Regions from separate parts of the Homo sapiens genome. Here all the other regions are linked to region 1. Evidence: promoter capture Hi-C in 16 types of primary human blood cells and fetal thymus (Javierre and others, 2016). All regions are on one chromosome and are shown on one strand. The core of a region is centred on a gene start or on the middle of the fragment in contact, and the rest is flanking DNA. Distances in the headings are between cores, read along the strand shown.

Region 1 (3,069 bases), core at 318-2,817:
GGCTGGTCTCAAACTCCTCACCTAAAGTGATCTGCTCGCCTCAACCTCTGAAAGTGTTGGGATTACAGGCATGAGCCACCACGTCCAGCTAGATTATAAATACTTTCTTGTTCTTTTTTTTTTTTTTTTTTTTGAGACGAGCCTCACTCTGTCGCCCAGGCTGGAGTGCAGTGGCGCGATCTCGGCTCACTGCAACCTCCACCTCCCGGGTTCACGCCATTCTCCTGCCTCAGTCTCCTGAGTAGCTGGGACTACAGGCGCCCGCCACCACGCCCGGCTAATTTTTTGTATTTTTAGTAGAGACGGTGTTTCACCGTGTTAGCCAGGATGGTCTCGGTCTCTTGACCTCGTGATCCACCTGCCTCGGCTTCCCAAAGTGCTGGGATTACGGGCGTGAGCCACCGCGCCCGGCCTCTTGTTCTCTCTTAATAATAAAAATAAATGGATGTGAATCTGAGTCCCATTTTTATTCCATTTTCTTAGGCATATGTTTTTTAATGTCTACTCCTGAAGTGATAAAATAGTAGAATTTCAAGTCTGTGGTTGGGAAAGTTTAGCCGAAATTCCATTTTCACAATTATTCTGGAATCCAATCAATCAGGATAAAAGTTAATGTCAAGTCAAGATAGGTGAGTTAAACCCAGGACTTTTGAATTGCCCTGTCTTGGAAAGGCTGGAATTTAAAGTTGCAGGAGGTGGGCAAGGGAAGGAAGTAATCACATTTAAGTAAAACACAGAACCAACCAACAGGAAGGCTCGCTGGGTTTGAATTCGGCAGCTTTGGAGTGTTTTCTAGTCTGGGTTGTGGTTAGTTCACTTAAAAAGAAAAGCGGTTAAGGGAAAAAAAAAAAAAATCCGAGACCAAAAGCTAGACTTATGACCACCACCTAGGTATTTCCTTTTGCTTCTTTCCTGTGGCGGGGGGAGGGCGAGGTGGGGGTTGCTTTGCCTTTCTCCTTCATTTTCAAAGTTTTTCTTTCCCAAAAGTAGTGACTATTTGGAGGTTTTGATGAGGCTCAACCTTCACACATCCAGTCTCCGCTGGGGCAACAGAGGGAAGGAGAAGGCCGGAGGGGGCTGTTGGTGCCCGGAGGATCGCCCCTTCCCTCCCGGGGCGTCTCAGGCCTGGCGGACACTGAAAGGTCGGGGCGCACTGACGGCCGGACCTCGCGAACGCAGCGCGCGCAGCCCTCAGGGTCTTTCCCCCGCCCACCCCGCGCATCGCTAGGGGGCTCAGGCTTTGGGAAGTCCCCCCAAGCTCCCGCGGCCTCCCACGGGCCCGGCGAGCGTCGTCTGGGGAGCGTTTCCATAAATGAACAAACTCAGCCGGGCCCCCCGCAGGGTTCAGCAATTCCAGAAGGCCGGGACAGGGCTGACCCGACGGCGGGGAGCGAGGGGACCCGTGGGCGGGAGTGGGGGGACTGTAGGGGGAGACCCGGGAGGGGAGGCCGCGCCCGCACCCGGTGCTCCTCGCCGGGGTCTCGGGCCCGCCCCTCCCTAGGGCCGGTGTGCGCCCCCTCGGGACGCCTATGCAGCCCTGCCTCGCCCGCCCCTCCCCAGGCTCCGGCTCGCACCCCCGTCCTCCGGCCGCGACCCCCGCCCGGGAACCCTAGCCCCTGGCCGCGGTCGCTTCCCGGACCTCGCCCCGCGCCTCCCCCTGCAGCCCGCCCCGGCCGCACCCCCTAGCGTCCCCGCCCCCGGCCGCGCCCCCTCATGGGGGCCCCCTCGGCGGTCCGGGAGGCGGCGGGCGCGCCATGGGCAGCGGCAGCAGCCGGAGCAGCCGGACTCTGAGGCGGCGGCGCAGCCCCGAGAGCCTCCCCGCGGGGCCCGGAGCGGCAGCCCTGGAGGGCGGGACCCGCCGGCGGGTGCCGGTGGCGGCGGCCGAGGTCCCGGGGGCAGCCGCGGAGGAGGCGCCCGGCCGCGACCCCAGCCCCGTGGCGCCCCCCGACGGCAGGGACGAGACGCTGCGCCTGCTGGACGAGCTGCTGGCCGAGTCGGCGGCCTGGGGCCCCCCGGAGCCCGCCCCGCGCCGCCCAGCCCGGCTCCGACCCACCGCGGTCGCGGGGAGCGCGGTGAGTGTGGGAGCCGCAGGGCCTCGGGGGACGGCGGGGACCCCACTCACCGGCCGCGCGTCCCCGCCCCAGCCCTGGGCGCCGGTCGCGCTGCGCCCCCTTCCAGCCTCCGACTTGCGTGCTCCCCGCTGCCCCGGCCTCCCCGCCCCTGGGCCCCCAGGTTTCCTCCCTCTCTGCCCCGTCTCCGGGTCTGTGTCCAGGCGTGGGGGCGATCGCGCTGGGAGCGGCCGAGGAAGGACACCCCTAGGCGGAGCGCGCCGGGCTCCCGGCTCCCCTCGGGCCCGCGGCCCCGCCTGGCCTTCCCGGGCCGCCCTGGAGCGGGGCGCCGGCGGTGGTGGCACGGCAGCCAGACGGTGGCTCAGAAGCGCCCTGCCGCGCCCACCGGTCCAGATCCTTGCCTTGCTGGGCAGGCAATTCTCATGTTACTGATATTTTTAGGATGCTGCGGAATCTCTTTTGCGCTTCCTATTCTCTCTCCCTGAATACTCGTAATAACAGTCCTGCTGTTCTAAAAAAACAATAAAACAAGCACTCTGGTTTGGCAACCGTCTTCGCTCCAGCAGAGCTGAATGAACAAGATCTTTAACATCCGCTCCCGGGCTCGGGGAGGATGCCAAGGGCCTCGTCCTCCTCCCTGAGGCCCGGGAGGCTTTGCTTAGCAGCCGCTGGGAGCCGAGGAAGATGCCTTCCTGGGTGGCTACCGCACCAAGGAATCCTGAAAAGGCCCCAGGGAGGGTGGGGGAGAGGGACAGCCCCAGGCGACAGTGCACAGAGCTCTCTCCCTCTGGCCCTGGTTCCCTGCTCCTCTCCCTTACGGTCTTTAAAGAGGAAAAGCGAGCTGCAGTGAGTAGGGCTGAATTATATAACAAGATTCCTTTAATACCACATCAGCCTGCAGTTATATAACACTGCCTGGACAAATAGCTGAGAAATTTGGGAGGAATTCACACATAGCAAGGAGGCAGTTAATTTTAGTGTTCATTTTCAAGTGCTTTGG
Region 2 (3,069 bases), core at 339-2,838, 440 kb before region 1:
TGTGTGTGGTGTGTGTGTAGTATATGTGTGTGGTGTGTGTGTAGTGTGTCTGTGGTGTGTGTGGTGTATGTGTGTGTCGTGTGTGTGTGGTGTATGCGTGTGTGGTGTGTGTGTAGTATATGTGTGTGGTGTGTGTGTAGTGTGTCTGGTGTGTGTGGTGTATGTGTGTGTCGTGTGTGTGTGGTGTGTGTGTGTGGTGTGTGTGTAGTATATGTGTGTGGTGTGTGTGTAGTGTGTCTGTGTTGTGTGTTGTGTATGTGTATGTCGTGTGTGTGGTGTGTGTGTAGTATGTGTGTGGTGTATGTGTGTGTCCTGTGTGTGGTGTGTGGTGTATATGTGTGTGGTGTGTGTGTGCACGTGTGGTGTGTGTTCTGTCAGGAAACCTGTCCTTCCACTTTGAAGCCCACTTTCTGGAGGCTCCCAACAAGGCAGGCTTTTTCTGTATGTTGACTTTGTGCTGCTTTGCTGGAAAGTGGGCAGTGGGCACAGCAAGCTCCAAGCTCATGGCTCTGGGTTGCTTTCCACAGCCAGTCTCCCCTCTGCCTTTCCAGCATGCTCCTGACTGTGTCCAGTGTCCAAGGGGAGCACCGCGAATGGTCTGAACTGACCGTGACAGTCTGATTCCATTTTGCCACCTGTTCCTCAAGCCTTCCCACAGCCGGCAACAGGCATGTGACTGAGTCTTGGACAATGAGATACATTGTGAGGGGTCTGCTGGGAGGCCTTTGGGGAACCATTGGCCTCCCTATAAAAGGGACAGATGTGACTGGTGCTCTTTCCTCTTTTTCCTGTCTTAAACATGGACATAATGCCTAACATTATGGTGGCCATTATGTAACTATGAGGCGATAAGCATGAGGAAGCGTTAGAATCCCAGATAAGAAACATGCAAAGAGCTTTGACCCTCCCCTGCCCGCTAGGGCATTCCTGAGCAGGTGAACCAATACCACCAACTGTCTATCTTTAGACTTCTTGTTATGTAAGAAAAATAAGCTTCTATTTGTCACATTGCTACTACTTGTAGTGGAAAGCATTCCTAACTGATTCATCCTGTACATTTAAAACCGCTAAAATTCTCGAAAGTTGGTTTTGTAGTTTTTATGGCTTCAGGTTGTTTAACCTGAGCAAGAACCAACCATATCTGATGTAGCAAGAAGAATGTCATGTTTCATTTCAAGGAGACTTGTCTCCTTCCACAATTTTCCAAGATTTAGTGCACTGCCAATAGATTAATCACTGTGCTTAGAAGAAAATTCACCTGTCAGAATTTCAAGCCGAGAATCAGAATCCCAATCCCAGAATCCATGTAAGGCTGAGAACCAACCAGAAGATCTTTAGCCCATTATGCTAGAACTCTAAAGGGTTACACACCCAGGATTAGCATGAACCCGAAGTAAATTTTTGCATTCTCTCCCTCAAACCCCCCTTTAGAAATAACAAGGAAATGTTTCTTGGCACTGAGGAGAGCGGGAGAAAAGCTCATCTCTGTGAAGCTGTATCCAAACACTGACCCTTGTGCAGACTGGTACCCAAATTCACACCCCCTGAATGGCCCAGAAATTTTCCAGGAACAAATTCAGATGAAGGTGATCTTGGAGTGGAAGTGTCCCTAGGTGCATGGCAGATGCAAGTGCAAATTCTTTCAGGCAGATGTCACATTCATCCGAGATCTCAAAGAATTATCATCAAGTAATATCTCAAGAAAGTAAGCAGGCTGGCCATGGTGGCTTATGCCTGTAATCCTAGCATTTCGGGAGGCCGAGGCGGGTGGATCACGAGGTCAAGAGATTGAGACCATCCTGGCCAACATGGTGAAGCCCCCGTCTCTACTAAAAATACAAAAATTAGCTGGGTGTAGTGGAGCATGCCCGTAGTTTCAGCTACTCGGGAGGCTGAGGCAGGAGAATCGCTTGAACCCAGGAGGCGGAGGTTTCAGTGAGTCAAGATTGCGCCACTGCACTTCAGCCTGGTGATAGAGTGAGACTCCATCTCAAAAAAAAGAAAAAAGAAAAGAAAGCAAGCAGCACTTAGTGAAAAATAAGGAAGCACACAAGGAAATAAGGCAACATGAGCATGAATAAGCAGAAAAAACAAACAGCTAAACTACTCCCAAATATTTCATATAATGAAATAATAGGAAAGAAATTATACAATTGTTATGTTGAAAAAACAATACAAGCTTAAAGATATTTGCAGGAAACAGAGAACTATGAAAAAACTGATTTGGCAGGTTTTTCGAAAATCAAATAGATCTTTCTTATAAAAATGAAAAATATAATAACTGAAACTTTAAATTTAATAGGTGGATTTAATAGGAAATTAGATATAGGCAAAGAGAGAATTAGTGAACTGGAAGATGGGTCAGAAAAAATTATCCAAATGATAGCACAGAACAACAGAAAGATGAAAATCATGAAAAAGAGGAGGATAGAGTGAGAAGGTCTAAATACATTTAGGGGGTATTCCAGAAGGAGAAGCAAGGGAGATGGGGGCAAAATTATTATTTAAAGAGATAATGTCTGATAATTTTTTGGAATGAACCAAAAGATGTCAATCCATACATTAAAGAAGCTCAACAAATGCCAAGGACAAAAAATAAAAATAAAAGTGAAAAAAATGTTCGAACTGAGTGGCTATCACAAATCTGTCTCTTACTGGCAGGGTGACCCAATGGTGTGTCCAAGGGGCTGATATTACTCATCCAATCCTGGAACATGGAGCTCTGAGCTCTTGCAGGGGATGAGCAAAGCAAGTATAAGTGCAATAATGGGCTCTGTGAGGCCCACTCCTTCTGGCCTGATCTAGGTCTGTTGGTACCATAAACAGAATGATGGTGGAGGTACCAGCGCATTTTTAACCTCCTTCTGTTTATTATATATAACATAGGAGGGATGGACAAATGATGGAAAACCCATTCCTCCAAGGTGAGATTTTTTTCAAAAAGTCTGGCATAAATCCATTGTTTTTTCCCACCCTACCTTGTAACTTAGTCTCCATATCTACCTTAGAATTGCCACATGCTTGGGATTTCATAGGAAATACTCTAAAAATCTTGTTTGGCAGAAAGGC
Region 3 (3,069 bases), core at 351-2,850, 410 kb before region 1:
GTGGAACTGGAGGTGAGAAGCCTCTGTGGGTGGAATTGGAGGTGAGAAGTCTCGGCAGGTGGAATTGGAGCTGAAAAGCCTCAGCAGATGGAATTGGAGGCAGCTCCTGAGGATGCCCTGTGTCTGGTGCAGCTGCACAGCCAGGGTATGGACTGTGTGTGCCCCCACAGCTCCGTGCCTAATCAGTGATCTGCTTACCAAAGTGGGCAAGGGGCCCTGGGAGTGAGGCCAGCCAGAAAACCGGAATCAGATGAGGGGCCTGAGCCCCCTGCTAACTCTCCCTGGGGAGCCGGAGGAAAGAACTGGCTCCAGGAACAGGCGCAGAGAGGGAAGCCAGGCATCGGGGGTTGTGGCAGACAGGGACCTCCAGGGCTGCCTCAGGTGGAGGTAGGTGCTTTCAACGCATTTCAGCTAAAAGAACAGGTAATCCCACAGCATCATTCTCCCCTTGACCTTTCAAAGCCCCTAATCTGATGGCATACCTGTATGTGGATCACTGACGATGCTTTTCAAGGTTGAGCAATTTGTTCATATTTACTCTGTGGTTGGGTGTGAAAACACCAGGTCAAGGATAACATCGCGGCTGTTTGTTCGCCTCATGGGAGAAGGAGCTGAGGGCCTTTCTGCAAGCACAGGATTGATGGTGATCCTGAGTCACGAACAGGCAAATGGGAGAGGCTTTTGAATTGGGGCGTTAGGGAGAAGCTTGAGTTATGTAATAGAAGCATGGTGAGCTGTCCTTGATACGATTACCACTCTCAGTAATTATTATTATTTGACCTACGCAGACAAATCCAATTAAATAAGAATTGTTTTGCAATCGAATTGTTCGGAGGACAGCAGAGAGCTCCCTCTGCATGGTGAGAAAATTCCCCTGGGTTTGCACTACATTCGGTGGTTTCTCAAGCAGCCCCACCTATATGGCTGCTTTTAGATTTTGATCCACAAAACCAAATGTGTGAAGAAGGCCAGGCATGATTCCCCCCATTTTGTGACCAAGGGGTTTGAGGCTCAGAGAGGCCAAGTGACTTGCCCAGGGTCACACAGCATGAACAGAACACAGGCAGGGCTGGGTGGGTCTCCTAGCCTCCATTTCAGACTTTGCTCTGCCAGTGCTGGCTAGGCTCCAGCAGCATTGTTAGGCGGCATTGTCCTGGGTGGGAGGAGCAGCAGGTGCTGGAAAGCACAGGAACTTCAGATTAAATAAAATATTGTAATGCTGGTTCCCATAACGGGCCCCATGGGATGTTGGTGAATCCTGGGTCCTGTCCTCAAGCCGTGCAAAGCCTGTGAGGCTCAACCCTCCACTGAACTCCAAGCAGGCTGTGCTGGGAGAGCCCTGGACACTTTGTGCCTGTAAAAGCGACTCAAGATTCTTGTTACTGGCATTCCAAAATGTAAATGTGCTTTTTCTCCTGATTATAACAGCACGGCAAGTTCATTGGAAAATTTCTGAAAATACAGAAAACTATGAGTAATAATATAAAAATCACCCAAACTTCTATTAACATTATATACAGTATTTCCTTTCTGTGGTTTGTCATGTATAGATGAGTATTTCTTGTTTTAAAGACTAGGTTGATGCTATACATGGTTTTGTATACTGAGGGGTTTTTTTCACTTTAACTTACTTCATGATTCTCTTACCATGATGCTAGTCATTGAATATATAATATTTTCAATAATACACTATTCCATCATATGCAAAAAGCCTTTTGCTTAGTTTTTGTCTTTGAAAAACCACAGACATGAATTAAAATCAGAAAGAATGAGTGACAGACTATATGCAGGTGCACATTTACAAGCATAAAAGTATCTTCTTCAAAAACAAAGGGAAAACAATTTTTGAAAAATCACACATGCATGTGGGCGCGCACACACACACACACACACACACACACACACACACTCCAATTAAGCCTAAAAGACATTTGACAAAATGTAACATCTTTTCTTTAAAAACCTCTATGATAGATTATGGAAACGATTTGGAAATATAAGGCATTCACCAAGAACCAACAGAGGATATTTTTCTAAAGAGTGAAACTCTAGAACCAGTTCATTTAAATCAGGAACTGTACAAGGGTGATAATATGACCATTATTATTATTGAATATTGTCGTGGTTCCAGCGAATGCAATAACATCAAAAGCCTATAAAACCATTTTGAGACCTTGGAAAACAAGAAATAAATTTGTCTATTTTTGTGGATGATATGACTATGCACTTAGAAAACTCAAGAGATTAGTAAAAGTAACTAGAAATTATCAATGAGTATTGGTGACATTGCTAGATACTAGATAATTAGACAAATTATACAAATACTGACAGCTTCTGTCTATTCTAGTCATAAGCAACTAAAATGGAAAAAAGTGTATTTACAATAGCAACCAAAGCTATGAAGTGTTCAGAAATAAAATGTAACAAGAAAGAATAATGTCCTATGTAAACTCTAATTGGATGGCATAAAGCAGACTGAATGAAGAGAAAGCTTGGATGGGAATGCATATGTTTAACTTAAAGTACCCCTCCTAGAATTAATGTATAAAGTTAATGCAACTTCAAATAGAATTCTGATGGAGTACTTTTTTCTTTTATTTATATATTATATACTTAATATATATATTATATTATATATTTTTTCTTTTATGCACATATTTTATAGAGATGGGGCTCTCACTTTGTTGCTCGGGTTGGTCTCAAACTCCTGGCCTCAAGCAATCCTCTTACCTCAGCCTCCCAAAGTGCTGGGATTACAAGTGTAAACCCTAATACCTGGCCAAGTATTTTTTAAGAGGCAGAGAATTGGATAAAATTATCATAAAGCTTGTTGGGGAAAATTAATTCCTAAGAAATAAAACCTTTTGAAATAGAATCATTGGGGGAATTTGCATTTTCAGATCAAGACATGCCCGAAAGCCACTCTATTCAAAGTAACAGACTGTTGGCATTGGAATAGAAAGCTAGTTCTAGAACCAAACAGAGAAAGCAGAAATAGATCCCAGTACATTTAAGATTCTAACACATGAAGAAGATGTTCTTTTTCACTAATGGGAAAAGATAGATTAC
Region 4 (3,069 bases), core at 570-3,069, 370 kb before region 1:
GAGGGGAAGGCAGGATGGAGGCAGGAAACAAAGGTGCCCACACCACGTGACCCACGTTACGATGGCAGGGGCAGGGTCTGTGGAACATCAGTGGCTCAGGGAGCTGGAGTGGCAAAAGAGGCTGGGAGGGTGGGCAGGGCAGGCCTCAGAGGGTCCTGGGTGCCAGGCTAAGGTGTTTGGACTTTACTCTGTGGACCCAGGGCCACCAGTGAAGGGCTTGAAACAGACAAGCCAAGTAGGCAGATGGCAAAGCTTCTGTCCACGTGTCGGATGGCATGTCTGAATACTGACTCGGTACAGGCTTAATGGGACTCTGACTTCTGCCCACTGAAAAAGACAAGGAAGTGGGAAGCAAAATAATGATAAACATCACTTTCCCCATGAAAATGAACTCCTCCAGGCCGGGTGCGGCGGCTCACACCTGTAATCCCAACACTTTGGGAGGCTGAGACGGGCGGATCATTTGAGGTCGGGAATTTGAGACCAGCCTGGCCAACATGGCGAAAACCTGTCTCTACTAAAAATACAAAAAATTAGCCAGGAGTGGTGGTGCACGCCTGTAGTCCCAGCTACTCAGGAGGCTGAGGCATAAGAATAACTTGAACCCAGGAGGCAGAGGCTGCAGTGAGCCAAGATTGTGCCACTGCACCACTCCAGCCTGGGTGACAGAGTAAGACTGTGTCTCAAAAAAAAAAAAAAAAAGTACTCTTCCAAACTCTCAGCCTCCAGACAAGGGCCCCCTCTTCTCTGCAACTGTGTGTGCCCACTGACCTGCCCCCAGGGCCCTTCTGGGCTCCAGGAGGCCCTGGCCTAGTTCCTATTTGGCTCCTTTCCCAGCAGCTTCCCAGTGAGCCACACCAGGGCTGGGGCAAGGTAGGGCCGTGATGTAACACTTTATAAAACAAACATCCTGGGACTTCCACTTACACATGGGCGTCCTCTGCTTCCAGCAGATCCTTTTGGAGGAGCTCCACTTTTCTGATGATGCCACCATTGCTCAGAGGAAGGAAGGCCTCCCTGAAAGCTGCTTTCTATGCCTCAGGCACGCCATTTGGATTATGGGCAGAGATGGCACACTTTCCACCTTGGAGGGTGGATTGGATTTTTCGGAAACACCTAAAACCATTCAAAGGGCAAGGTTAAAGGACTGGTGAGTGACTGAGCTAAGGAAAACTATTTTTGGCCAAACATCCAGATGGGACTAGAGCATCTGTGACTAGTCCCCATTACCCAGGTGTCCTGAGTTAGGGCACCCTTGCCAGGGCAGAAGCTAACCTCCCAAAGTCCTCATGGGGCTGGAGGTCATGAGCCTCACTCCACAGTCCACTCTTCTATGCTTCTGGAAGAAGTTTGGTGAAGTAGAGTACAACCACGGACACGTAAGCAGCGCCCAAACCCATTTTCCAGAAAGCTCTCAATGTCAAACTTTCCAATACTGAGTAAATGGATACACAAATGCTTGCTGGTTATTGTCTTCTATGTGACCTACTTCTTTTTGATAAGGGTGAGGCCAGGCGCGGTGGCTCACGCCTATCATCCCAGCACTTTGGGAGGCCAAGGCAGGCAGATCACTTGAGGTCAGGAGTTTGAGACCAGCCTGGCCAACATGGTGAAACCCCATCTCTACTAAAAATAGAGAAATCAGCTGGATGTGGTGGTGGGCGCCTGGATTCCCAGCTACTCAGGAGGCTGAGGCAGGAGAATTGCTTGAAACTGGGAGGCAGAGGTTGCAGTGAGCCAGTATTGCGCCACTGCACTCCAGCCTGGGCAACAGAGCAAGCCTCTTGACTCAAATAATAATAATAATAATGATAAGGGTGACTGCTTAAGTCTGCAATCACTATATACCTTTATAAGCCTTTTCATGTAAGTTAGCAAAGAAGAAAAAAGATACTTCCTTCATCAGACATGTTTTTGGTTTTGGTTTAGAAAACTTGGTCAGTGGATTTATACAGAACTCTGTGAAATAAGTAGATTCTTAGAACATTAGAAGGAAAGAAGAACCTGAGCTTTCAGCCAGTCCAACCACCCCATTTTCAGAAAGGTAGTCTGGAACCCAGAGAGACAGAGTGATGTCCAAACTTTCATAATGAGCGGGGCAGAGCGGCGGGGGGGTGGTAAGGGGGCCCAAGGAATCCTAAGAAAATGGGAGTTGGTCCCAGAACTTAGGTGAGATGACTAAGCTCTTAGAAGCATGTCCAGTGTAGTATCTAATGTTTTTATTCACTCTTTTAGCACCACACATAGAAGTCTCATCTCTGGCCAGGCACAGTGGCTCACGCCTGTCATCCCAGCACTTTGGGAGGCCGAGGTGGGTGGATCACTTGAGGTCAGGAGTTTGAGATCAGCCTAGCCAACATGGCGAAACCCCATCTCTACTAAAAATGCAAAAATTAGCTGGGCACGGTGGTACATGCCCGTAATCCCAGCTACTCAGGAGGCCGAGGCATGAGAATCGCTTGAGCCTGGGAGGCAGAGGTTGCAGTGAGACGAGATCACGTCACTGCACTCCAGCCTGGGCAACAGAGTGAGACTCTCAGAAAAAAAAAATAAAAAAGAAATCTCATCTCCACATGAGGGTGATTCCTAAGTGCGTGGCATCACGTATTTTTTTTACAAAGATCTGTTGCTTGTTTCCGAAGAAAAGAAAATAGTAATGGAGAGGATGAAGTTTACTGAAAATACATTGAAAGACAATAAAGTCATGCATTTTAAGTAAGGCCAGGTTTAGTCACCACCACCTGAGCTTCTGGAATCCAGCTGAGTGGTTGGGTTTCACAACTCCAGCCTTGCTGTCCACAGTTCTGCTGCCCAGGGCCTCTGCGGGTCTTCCTGCAGCCGCAGAGCAGAGCTCCGGGGAAGGAGCAGGCCTCCTTCCCTCCTTCTATTTCCCCTGCTGGGCTCTCCAGGCAAGGGCTCACCTTCCCAGCATGCGGGCAGGAGTTTGGGCTTTGGGGTGGGCTGGCGGGAGAGGAAGGTATGTGGGCGATAGCAGTGTGAGTGGCTTGTATGTGCAACAGTCAGAGCCCTCCTGGCTCCCTGAGCCAAGAACTGGCCTCTACGTTCCAG
Region 5 (3,069 bases), core at 248-2,747, 280 kb after region 1:
CGGAGAGGCCTTCCCTGGCTCCTCAGAGCACTCCGGCCCCTCCACCCCCACCAGCTGCACCGTCCCTTGGGATGTTCACAGCACAGACACAGGCACAGTCCCGGAGGGGGTGGCTACGTTGTGTTTGTTTGATGAGGAATAAATAAATGATGTTGGGTAAACCCTCCCAGTTAGTAGACTCCTCCTCTCACCCCCTGAAAGCTTAGACTAAGGGTCTCTTAGGCTTCTGCCAGTGAGGAGTCCAAAAGGGACAAGAGGCTTCAAAAAGAGGACAAGCCCCCAGTGGACTCCACTCAAGCTGGGCTCCGAGAGGCTTAGGAGGCTTCCAGGTTCCACTGGCAGTGGGTATGAAAATCCCTTTGCTACAAGTATTCTGAAGCCATGCCTGAATTTCTCCCATTCATTCACTCATTCATTCACTCTTCATTCATTCATTCATTCATTCATTCATTCATTCATTCATGCCTGCCTGCTCATCTATGCTTGAGTGGAACAGGCCCAGCTGATGTCCTGTGTGTACCCGGCACAGCTGCCACAGCTCCCAGCCCATCCACTCTGCCAGCCCACCTGGCCCCACAGGGCCAGGCCTGCAGGTGTCCTCTCCCAGGCAGGGGGCAGAGGAGGCAGCTCACTTCAAAGGGCCCCTGGCTTTGCCTGGGTCACAGTCTGGAGCTCCCCACTAAGAGCCGAGAAGCGTGGCCCTACAGAGGGTCCCAAAGCCTGAGGAAGGGAAGATAGGGAACTGCCCAGAATTGGGTAGCACTACTTCCCCATTTTACAGACGAGGAAACTACAACTTAGAGAGAAGAGGTTTCTGGCCCAAAGTCACACAAAGTCAAAATTGGACCCTGGTCAACATGGAAGGGGAGGGAGTGGAAAAGAGATGGCAGGGGAATGGAAGGGAAGGAAGAGAAAAGAAGTCTCTGGAATCGGCATGGGAAATGAAGAGACTCCCCCAAGGCCCTGTCCTCATTTACCCTCTGCGCCTGGCCCTTCCCTGCCCTGCCGGCTGGATGTCCAGGGACCCACCCAGCCCGACCTGCTCTCTGCCGCGCTGCTCACACTCGGCTGCTGTGCGCTCCTGCCCTCTGGTGGCAAGATCTGGAAGCGCGTTGTCACTGCATCCCAGCACCTCTAGAGGGGAAACTAGGAGCAAGTCAGTTCACCACCCACTGTGTGCAAGACACTGAGCTGGAGACCTAGGGAGGAGGGAACACAGCCCCGTTTCTGAGAGTGCAAAGTTTAGGGGACAAGACAGACAGGCAAACAGACCACGGCAACACAATGAGATAGGGACTTGGCTGGGGGAAGCTCAGGTTGTTTTAAACCTAAAACAAGCAGCCCCCAAATCTATGAGGAAGAGCCTGCCTAGCAGAAGGTCCCACCATGCCCAGGAACATTTGGGCAGCACCTGCTCTGAGGGCTCTGGGCTGCCTGGCTGGGGTGGGACAGACCCAGAGTCCTTTCTGATCTGTCTGCAGCGAGAGCCCTGGAGCCAGAGGGGACCCGAGGAGGTTTGCAGGCTGTGGTCTGGGCAGGAAGGAAGGGCTGAGGTCCCCACCCTTCTTCTCCCTTTCTTAACCTAGTGCAGACCCAGCTGAAGCCAGCCTCACAGGGTTAACAAGAACTGCGGACAGTCATATAGCTATAATTAAGCATTCATCAGGCTGTACTTTGACCCACTTCCTTGTAACCAAAAGTCACGTAGCCCTAGGTACGGACAGTTCACATCCCCATGGTTCCTATTGATAGGATCTCTGACCTTAGAATCATAGGAATTTTGTTTAAGAATTGCTTAAGCAGATCCTGAATTCCATCAGAACAGCTGATGCCAACCAGCTCGAAGACCCCCACAGAGGAACGGAATCCGCGTGACAGTGAGGTTTCTTCATCTCCTTGTCCCGTGACTGCACTCTTCGACCAATCAAGGACCTCCACACTTTGACCCACTTCAAAACCCTTAAAAATTCGAGCCCCGAACTCCCTGGGGAGATGATGGATTGGGGGTTTCCTCCCATCTCCTCACTTGGTGGCCCTGCATTGATTAGACCTCTCTCTCTGCTGCAATGCGGCATCTTGCATATTGACTTCCTGCACGGGTCAGGCCATGAACCTATTACGGTTCCAGAGCTTCAGGCTGGAGAGGCAGAGTGACAAGAGGGTTCAGTAGAAGGCTGGGAGCCAGACTGCCTGGGGTCTTAACAGCAATTGCGTCCTCTGGGCTTCAGTTTTCTCTTGTGTGAAAAGGTAATAAGAACAGTGCCCACCTCTGAGGGTCGCCCTGAGGGTTAAACACACTGATACAGAGAAAGTGGGCAGAATGGTGTTTGGCCCATGGTCAGGGCTGATCATATCTGCTCTTGCCAATAATGCCAACTCACCAGCATCCAGCCCTCCTTTCTTTGGAAGAGTTTCCCATCTCACTCTCATGGCAGATAGTACCACCCAGAGTAGGTGCAGAGGCCCAGAGAGAGGAGGTGTCTCACGTGAGGTCACTGGGCGAGCAGCAACTGTGTTGAGCCTGGCACCCAGGCCTCTGGGCCTAGAGGTTGCAGCCTGGATTCCCAGCCCCCTTGTGTACCTTCTGGGCATCCCTGACTTCCGAGTCCCTGAACTGCCCTCCTCAGTGAGGAGTCTACTTTGCTACTTATTAACAGACTCTCTCACAGGACTGCTGGGCAGGTGCAGCCAGTTTCAGAGTCGCAGCATCCATAGCATTTGCTGAAGCATTGGCTACAGGCAACACCTGTATTGCATTTGTCTTCCTGGAAGATAATGAGCTCTAAAGCTTCACTGTGAAAAGTGTGGTCCCTGAGCCAGCAGCATTGGCCTCACCTGGGAGCTGGTTAGAACTGCACAATCATAGGCCCCTCCCAGACCTACAGAACTGGAATCTGCAGTTTAATGAGAGCCCCAGGCAGTATGTGTGCACCTTACCGATTGCCAGGGAAGGGTGTCTTAAGCAAATGGACTAAAGTGGGAGAATGAACTGTAGATGTGTCCACCGAGCCTGCCCTGGGCAGCACATGTGCCGGCACCCGTGCCAGGGTCTGGGAATTCTTGGGGGAG

What was found. Contacts are between HindIII fragments. The CHiCAGO score rates a contact against its expected background, and 5 or more counts as called.
Region 2: a contact is called between a fragment that was not itself captured here and the fragment with the promoter of CYS1 in region 1, in 4 of 17 cell types (total CD8 T cells, naive CD8 T cells, endothelial precursors and 1 more). The highest score is 6.9, in total CD8 T cells.
Region 3: a fragment that was not itself captured here is called in contact with the fragment with the promoter of CYS1 in region 1 in 2 of 17 cell types (erythroblasts and naive CD8 T cells); the score reaches 5.4 in erythroblasts.
Region 4: a fragment that was not itself captured here is called in contact with the fragment with the promoter of CYS1 in region 1 in 9 of 17 cell types (neutrophils, naive CD4 T cells, naive B cells and 6 more); the score reaches 12.6 in neutrophils.
Region 5: a fragment that was not itself captured here is called in contact with the fragment with the promoter of CYS1 in region 1 in 1 of 17 cell types (erythroblasts); the score reaches 7.2 in erythroblasts.

The regions. Positions count from the first base shown.
Region 1 is chr2:10,078,909-10,081,977 of GRCh38, reverse strand. CYS1 (cystin 1) reads left to right here and starts at 1,567. Exons shown (of 3, transcript NM_001037160.3): 1 at 1,567-2,072. The coding sequence starts at 1,755. RefSeq lists silencers at 1,253-1,492, 1,663-1,722, 1,783-2,022, 2,093-2,432. The HindIII fragment of the contact is 11,698 bases long and covers 1-3,069 here.
Region 2 is chr2:10,515,391-10,518,459 of GRCh38, reverse strand. No RefSeq gene overlaps it. Among named protein-coding and RNA genes, the nearest start is that of ODC1-DT, 67 kb to the right of the region's middle. The HindIII fragment of the contact is 1,186 bases long and covers 996-2,181 here.
Region 3 is chr2:10,484,803-10,487,871 of GRCh38, reverse strand. No RefSeq gene overlaps it. Among named protein-coding and RNA genes, the nearest start is that of ODC1-DT, 37 kb to the right of the region's middle. RefSeq lists enhancers at 1-225, 226-736. The HindIII fragment of the contact is 1,786 bases long and covers 708-2,493 here.
Region 4 is chr2:10,450,328-10,453,396 of GRCh38, reverse strand. It overlaps ODC1-DT (ODC1 divergent transcript), which reads right to left. Exons shown (of 5, transcript NR_110597.1): 3 at 928-1,116. Among named protein-coding and RNA genes, the nearest start is that of ODC1-DT, 2.1 kb to the right of the region's middle. The HindIII fragment of the contact is 3,130 bases long and covers 255-3,069 here.
Region 5 is chr2:9,797,874-9,800,942 of GRCh38, reverse strand. No RefSeq gene overlaps it. Among named protein-coding and RNA genes, the nearest start is that of TAF1B, 44 kb to the left of the region's middle. RefSeq lists a silencer at 1-123 and enhancers at 1-291, 292-1,127. The HindIII fragment of the contact is 2,587 bases long and covers 204-2,790 here.